Regions from separate parts of the Homo sapiens genome. Here region 2 is linked to region 1. The links are contacts of gene promoters, found by promoter capture Hi-C in blood cells and fetal thymus (Javierre and others, 2016). All regions are on one chromosome and are shown on one strand. Each heading gives the region's core, a stretch centred on a gene start or on the middle of the fragment in contact. The rest is flanking DNA. Distances are from core to core; before and after follow the strand shown. Region 1 holds the start of INSL4 (insulin like 4). Region 2 overlaps RIC1 (RIC1 partner of RAB6A GEF complex).

Evidence for each region. Contacts are between HindIII fragments. The CHiCAGO score rates a contact against its expected background, and 5 or more counts as called.
Region 2: a fragment that was not itself captured here is called in contact with the fragment with the promoter of INSL4 in region 1 in 2 of 17 cell types (naive B cells and naive CD4 T cells); the score reaches 5.5 in naive B cells.

What each region holds. Positions count from the first base shown.
Region 1 is chr9:5,229,887-5,234,052 of GRCh38, forward strand. It overlaps INSL4 (insulin like 4), which reads left to right and starts at 1,533. Exons shown (of 2, transcript NM_002195.2): 1 at 1,533-1,833; 2 at 3,768-4,166. The coding sequence starts at 1,638. The coding sequence ends at 3,991. RefSeq lists a promoter at 810-1,627. The HindIII fragment of the contact is 5,637 bases long and covers 1,162-4,166 here.
Region 2 is chr9:5,750,146-5,754,164 of GRCh38, forward strand. It overlaps RIC1 (RIC1 partner of RAB6A GEF complex), which reads left to right. Exons shown (of 26, transcript NM_020829.4): 13 at 3,055-3,093; 14 at 3,391-3,501. Among named protein-coding and RNA genes, the nearest start is that of ERMP1, 81 kb to the right of the region's middle. The HindIII fragment of the contact is 1,055 bases long and covers 780-1,834 here.

The sequences.
Region 1 (4,166 bases), core at 283-2,782:
CACTTATAACCTTTATAGTCTCAGCCATAGTCATCCTAGCAACTGCTAGTGTGGCTATAGCATCTACTACCGAATCAGTGCAAACAGCTGCTTTTGTAGACAATTTGGCCAGAAATGTGTCTAATGAACTTCTCTTACAGCAGGGTATAGATCAAGAGATTCTTGCACGTCTGCAAGCCCTCGAGGCTGCCTTGGAATTTGTGGGGGAGCGACAAGATGCCCTAGCATTCTGATAGCAATTAAACTGTGACTGGGAGCATAAACATATCTGTGTCACATTTTTACCTTGGAATCAATCAATACATAGTTGGGATGAGGTGAAACAACACCTCTGGGGAAACTTTCATGACAATTTAACAGCAGACGTAAAGCAACTTAAAACTAAAATTTTAGAATCCCTTCACATGATAGATCTACATACTCAACAAACAGCCATATGGAAAGGTGTGCAAGATCATTTCTCCTGGTTATACCCCCGATCCTGGGGGTCACACTTTGACTGGAAAGGAATGTTACTAATTATACTCATGATTGTCTTACGTTATTTGCTAATTCTATGATGCAAAGCCGGAATAAAAGCAAAACCTAACAAACCTGTTGCTGCACACATCTGTACTCTTAAGTCAACAGAACCCGATGCAAAGAACAGAAAGGGGGGAGATGTGAGAGTTCAGTCAGGCTGGTGGGAAAATTTTTTCAGATAGTTATAAGAAAAAGACGCAAACCTTTTTGAAACGCCGGAGGGGTTTGTATAAGCTCCAGTAATAGATCAGGCTGAAGGCAGCCTAATCCTTACCTTGAGTTAATAGCTTAAGGCACAGATACAAATGAATGTAGTTTATCTAGTTTGTTTACTCATGTGGTCCTAAGACTAATCTTTGATCAACCGCGGGTGCATAATTGCTCTCTACTCGGGAGGTTGGCAATGTCAATTACCTTCTAGTGGTGTTTACTCAAGACCTTCGTCATTTAATCTATGCTGAATAAATGTGAGCTTTGCTGGCTGATCGGGGCCACGGCTGCAACTCTTTACAGCACCCTCCTTGGTGTCTGTAGGTGGCCCGGACCCTCAGCTGGACTGACAGGCAAACTATCTGTGTCAGTGTATGTTATTCATCCGTCGTTGGGTCAGGGTCTGTGGGACAGACCCCCGCAATTAAAAGCTTATATGCCAAATGTTAACTAAGATAATTTCTAGCCAATGAGCTTACAGGTCAGTTCTATTTTTATTTCATCTAAGCAAAGGACATTAAAAATTACCATTATTTTAGTAAGCATAAAAATAGTATTACAGGAGGAAAGTTAAGAAAAAGAAGTAGAACAACCAAATTCAAAACAAGCAAAGTGCAGCAGCACATTGGGAGCAAAGAGGGATATGAGAGTGTGGGTAGGGCAAGTAGGGAGACTAAATAAGAACTGAGGGAGAAAGTTCCTTGTAGGTGGGTGGGAAAGGGGTGGAACTGACACCATTGACGCAAAAGCTGAGTAATAGCCCTAAGCAAATAAATGCCTGATGAAGGCATGCAGAAAGCAGTCTGGAGCCCAGAAGGGACACACCAGCACAGTCTGGTAGGCTACAGCAGCAAGTCTCTAAAGAAAGGCTGAGAACACCCAGAACAGGAGAGTTCAGGTCCAGGATGGCCAGCCTGTTCCGGTCCTATCTGCCAGCAATCTGGCTGCTGCTGAGCCAACTCCTTAGAGAAAGCCTAGCAGCAGAGCTGAGGGGATGTGGTCCCCGATTTGGAAAACACTTGCTGTCATATTGCCCCATGCCTGAGAAGACATTCACCACCACCCCAGGAGGGTGGCTGCTGGAATCTGGACGTCCCAAAGGTGAGAGCCCTGGACTACCAAACAATCAGAATGAGGCCTGAAAAAACAGGCTCCAGATCTCATTGACTGCCTGTAGTCAACTCAGACTCTACTGTGGCTAGTGCCTACAAGTTTGTGGTTTTTCATTGTAATGTGCTTTTATTAAAAGGGTCTCACCAGAAATCTCATGGGAAGTTGGGGGTAGAGGAGAAGCTGCAGGAAAAACAGAAGAACAGCCTCACCTTGGAGGCTCTTGGTGCCTTTCCCACCTGGCAGCCAGAGATACAGGGTGGAGAAAACAGGGAATCCTCAGAGAAGGTGACTATTCTCAAACACCAGCAGGAGGTGAGGTGTACTCCCAGACCCCCAGGAAAGCTGGGCAGGCCAGAAAACAGGTGTGATTGCAATGAGATGCCTGGGCCAGGCATCTTCAATTAAGAAGAAAGGGGACAAACAGTGAGGTGATGAGCTGATTATCATTTCTGTTTATGCACCTATTGGCCTAGGGGCAGCACACTGAGACCTCTGTTAGGTTCCTGGAATGTGAGATAAAGGGGGCTTAGATTTAATAACTCTCATCCTTTGTCATTAAGCTGGGCAGTGGTCTATGTCACCAAAAACGTCCTCTTACAAAAAAGTTTTTTTTAATGCACACCAACAGAGCACCTTGCCTCCCATTTCTTTGAATCTACTCTTGTAGTGTGTTGAGAGAGATGAGATGAAGAGAAAGAAAGTGGCCTGGATGACTAGAGGGGAAATTGAAGGGGACCAGAGACAAGGGAATTTCACTGTTCAGACCATCATAGCTGATTTGATTAGTGTTTTCAACATTTGAGACTGCAAAGCATTTTCTTTAAAAGCAAGATTTCAGAATTGAGGAAAGTTCAATACCAGGATAGTTTTCAAACTTTACCAAGTAACAAGGTATTCATAAAGATAAATTGCCAGCTAAGTTAAAACTAGCAGGGGCAGTTTCGAAAAGAGATAGAGGCTACTATATTCTGTCTAATAGGTCGTATTAAGTTCTGAAAAGCTAAGTTAAATTACTAAACATTGTTTTACATTTAATACAAATGACACAGGTTTTGAACCAGCAATGTGTGACTCCAGAACTGCTTCTTGTAACCCATATGCATACACTTCATTAAATCATTAAATGACTCTGTTTAAAGTTATCGTGCACAGTGAATGCACTTGGATTTTGTGTGATTTATATAACGATTTCAAAGTTATTTCCTTTTTTTACATTATTAGTCAGAGCTTGTTTCATTTTACTATAAAATAAGGGAAGAATACCACAAAGTCCAAACAATTTCTAATGCAAACTAAGGAAGAGCATGCTGTACTATAATTTCTATTTAAATTTCACTTTTTTTCAGTAAATAAGTGAAAATCCTCATTTAAATACTTTGACAAATATAGATAAATTTAACAAGAAAAATGGAAAGTATTCATGGATAACAAATGTTAACATTTGGTGTCGACACATATAGATGTATGTTGCTTCTCAGCCTTTTAGCTAAGATCCACTGATATAGATGTATAGATTTATGTGGATCAGATTTGAATATCTGAATCTTTCTATTAGAATAACTTGTGATTATAAAAAAAATTCCCTATTGCTATCCAGTACATAATGCATTGAGGTTATCAATCAAAACAGTGTCAGGGAGAGTCAAAAGTGGTATGGTATAGGCATTTAGAGGGTCATTAGAAGAGTGCATAGAGGGGACAGGATGAGGAGTTAGCATATCCTTAATATTGTAGTATCTTAAAGTGCCCTACTCTAAGTAAGCTAAGTTGTTGAAATGTTAGGATACTTGCTGATTCTCTCTGGTGTTTAATTACATGGAGGCAATGGGTACATTGTGGTCTAGGCAAATTGTATAATTTTTCTGATCCTCTTTCACATGAATGTTTTTCCTCACCTTTCATTCCTCTCTTTTACTTCACAGAAATGGTGTCAACCTCCAACAACAAAGATGGACAAGCCTTAGGTACGACATCAGAATTCATTCCTAATTTGTCACCAGAGCTGAAGAAACCACTGTCTGAAGGGCAGCCATCATTGAAGAAAATAATACTTTCCCGCAAAAAGAGAAGTGGACGTCACAGATTTGATCCATTCTGTTGTGAAGTAATTTGTGACGATGGAACTTCAGTTAAATTATGTACATAGTAGAGTAATCATGGACTGGACATCTCATCCATTCTCATATGTATTCTCAATGACAAATTCACTGATGCCCAATTAAATGATTGCTGTTTATTAGAACATGAGAATCATTATTAGTATTCACATGTTTCACTTGCTCTGTACTAATATAGTCTCTCCAAATGGAGGAAGTTAGATA
Region 2 (4,019 bases), core at 57-2,556, 520 kb after region 1:
ACTTTTGAAGTCATTTGTTGACATATGGGGCACAAACTATTGAAATTTTACAGAACACAAAGTTTCTAGTTTTAGGCCATGTTCCTTCTAAGACTGCCATTTATTTTAATGCTCAGTATTTTGTATGATGTAAGCATTTACTTCTGAAAGGTACATAAATCTATTATCCATTGTTCTGAGGGTGTTGGTTTGATGGTTAGCTTGGCTATTTAGAAAGAATAAGCTTCACAAAATGTGGAAGATAAGCACCTACAGGGTATCAGGCACTATGTTAGGGATTTCAACAGAGAGTATTTAAAGGCTCTTTCATTCATAAATTATTTACTGTCTTCCTACAGTATGTATCAAGTGTACCAGGTATTTGGCACAGAACAAATCTGCTAGGAGGATGGCTCCCACAGTCTCACTAGTTATAGACAAAACTAATCTAGGCAGGAGACAGAGTTTTAGCAGAGTTACTTTAAAATTTAAAAATCATAATAACAAATGAGGGCGGATTCAGTTTCTTTAAGAGAAACTGAAACATTCTAAGATAAGGGTAGAGTTTCTGTACCTTAGCACTCAGTTTTCCAGTGATGTGGCATGACTTCAGTGCCCTGAGTGTGCTTTCATGACCTGTTTTTTTTGTCACTGATCAGCTGCCTCTTCCTTACTTCTGCCATTCCCTTTTATCAAGTATTAGAGGTAGAGCTCAGAGTTCAGATGACACATAGATCAATAAAGTTGACCTACTGGAGAAAATACATAGTATCTTTAGACACAAACTGCATGAAAAATAAAGCTTCATTCTAAACTTAACACCTTAAGTTTTTAAAATACATCATTTGTGGCACTTCATAGATTTTTGTAGAATAAAGAATAAATTGTTTTATAGATATTGATCATAGTGTGATCATTTGATAAGATTTAACTTTGGTTCCCATTATTAGAAACTCTTTGTGTTAGAATCCACTTTTGCAGTAAGATCCCAGCTCCTCCATTACCCACCCACACGTTTCATAAGTACTCATGAAACACCAAGGTTTGAGGGAGGTAAGGATTCCTTTTAGTGCAATGGATGATTGACACAGTTATACTCAGGTACATCCTCCTGCTGTGAGTGACTGCTGAAAAAAGTTGAAAATGCTTTCAAGTTTTATTTCACCACCCAATCATTACCTTAAGTGTACCATTATTCTGAACTAATTTTACCCATCATAGTGATCTTTTTGGGGGTCTGGGGGGCAGGGAGACAGAGTCTCACTCTGTTGCCCAGGCTGGAGTGCAGTGGTGCAATCTCGGCTCACTGCAACCTCCGCCTCCAGGGTTCAGGTGATTCTCCTGCGTCAGCTTCCCGAGTAGCTGGGATTGCCGGCACCTGCCATCACGCCTGGCTAATTTTTGTATTTTTAGTAGAGACGGGTTTCACCATGCTGGCCGGGCTGGTCTCAAACTCCTGACCTCAGGCAATCTGCCTGCCTCAGCCTCCCAAAGTGCTGGGATTACAGGCATGAGCCACGGTGCCTGGCCCATAGTGAATTTTATTAATTTATTAAGCTATTGATTTAGTTGGATTTTAAGTTGACTTAAGTCAACTTAATAAGTATAACAAATAATTAGTAAGTAAAGCACTTGATAATAAGTGAAGTATAACAAACAGTTTTATCAAATTTTATCAAGGTTAATACAGATGTTTAGAGCATATTGCTTTTACTTAATTTTCTGTCTTCACATTACATACACAATCTTACTGGGTTTGATTGCTGTTGACTTAGCTTTTTAATTTGGCATTTAGTTTTTCAATATGTGACAACTTTTCTTAGAGTAAAATGAAAAATAAATTTGAACAGATCGAAGCTTTTCTTATTCCAAGAACAGAAGACTCTTTGTTCAGTTCTGTTAATTCTCGCCCCACTCCAACATGTGCTCATGAAAACTAATCAGCAGGCTAGAGAGATCAATCTCATTAAAACGAAAATTTACTTTATCTACATTGATATCCCATGTCAATTATTTAAATTGAAAGGTGTTGTTAGGGTGATACAAAGACACCATGTTCAAAGATGTAAGACAGACAACGTGGAAAAATGAACGCCTTTTCTTGCAGATAGAGTTAATATTTGTAATATATTAAAAGTTCTTGTAGATAAGTAAGTCAAATACCCCAATAGAAAAATAATAGCTTACATACACTCTTTCATGTACATATATATATGTTTGTTTAGAGATAGAATAAAAGCTAACCAGTGGTTGTACCTAAGTAACAGAGAATTTCATTTTGTCAATTTTTATATTGCATAATTTCATAAGTTTTTTTTTGTTTTTTTTTTTTGGAGACGGAGTTTCGCTCTTATTCCCCAGGCTGGAGTGCAGTGGCGCGATCCTGGCTCACTGCAACCTCTGCCTCCCGGGTTCAAGCGATTGTCCTGCCTCAGTCTCCCATGTAGTTGGGACTACAGGCATGCACCATCATGCACGGTTTCGTATTTTTAATAGAGACGAGATTTCGCCATGTTGGTCAGGCTGGTCACAAACTCCTGACCTCAGGTGATCCACCTGCCTCGGCCTCCCAAAGTGCTGGGATTACAGGCGTGAGCAACCACACCTGGCCTAAGCATTGCTGTTTTAATCAGAAAAGTGTAAAAGTAATAAAAATATTTCCATTAAAAACCAGAACTTTTTCTGAGGCTGTAATTGTATTAGATTAGGTTGTTTTGGAATGGTTTATATCAGCAAACCCAAACTGTTCATCTGCACAATTCATAGCTGCCCTCACAGGTGCCTTCTCTGAAAATCTCTTGTCAGTCTGTATTTATTGAATTCAATATTTAAAACAAACAGAAACATAAGGGGCAAGGGGCAGGGAGAGGAAAGCCTGGTGCCTAGAAACATGAAATAACGTAAGATGTAAAACATTGATTCATATACAAATGGTAAATTCCAAGTGCTCTGCTACTAACTAGGGGGCACCTTAAACATTGTTCGGCAAGATGAATCTCATAGTGTGATAACTTAATGCTTTAAGTTTAAATATATTTCATAAGTTTTACCAATCTGATGTGTTATTTTCTATAGATTTCCAGCACCTATCTAGAGAGCAATTGGCCTATACGGGTGAGTTGTTATTTTGTTGGTGTTAACTTTTGTTGACTAGCATTTGCTGCAAGAGGCATTCTGGGAAGAGCCCTTCAGTGGGTGTACTGAGAAAAATAAAACTCTTGATCTATTGTAACATTGCTAGTATATTAACATCTATAATTTTGTCAGATATAACTGAATATTTGGACTTTAAAATATTTAATTAGCAAACATTTATTAATTGTCTGTTTGCCTGACACAATACTAAGCTCTTTATGCCTAATAAAGTATATAGGTTTGCAAGGAAAAGTTCTTATTTTTTTTTTTAAACAGTTTTCAGCTATTGATAAGCTTGGACAGAATATTGCTGTGGTTGGCAAGTTTGGTTTTGCACATTACTCTTTACTCACCAAAAAATGGAAACTTTTTGGAAACATTACCCAGGTTAGTCTTTTTTGAGATTAAAAACCTATTTCTCAAAGTATAAGAGAACTACAATATGAAATAGCTATAAAGTTTATCACTAAGTAATTTTGGTTACTTATTAAAAATAAGGAAAATCAGATATAAAAAAGTGATATTGAATAATATGTAAGATTTGATTCTGATAAAATACTTGATATTTGATAAAGGATCTTGTGTTGAAATAGTTGGTTTATTTTTAATTCTTTTTAAGATCGGTAACTATAATTCCTTAGCCTGAGGATTTATTCTTACATTCCAGCTTGAGTTTATCTGATGTGATCAGAATAGATTTCCACAGAATTTGAGATCATTCCATGCCTATTCTGTGTGTGATGTATATGGGATAGTGAGTGTGCGTGTGTGTATGTGTATGTGTGTGTACATATACGCATGCAGTTGGAAGAGAAGGAAATCAGTACTTATTAGGTGCCTATTGTGTGTTAGGCATTTTAAGGCACTTTCATATATGTTATCTTACTCATCTGCACAGCAACCCA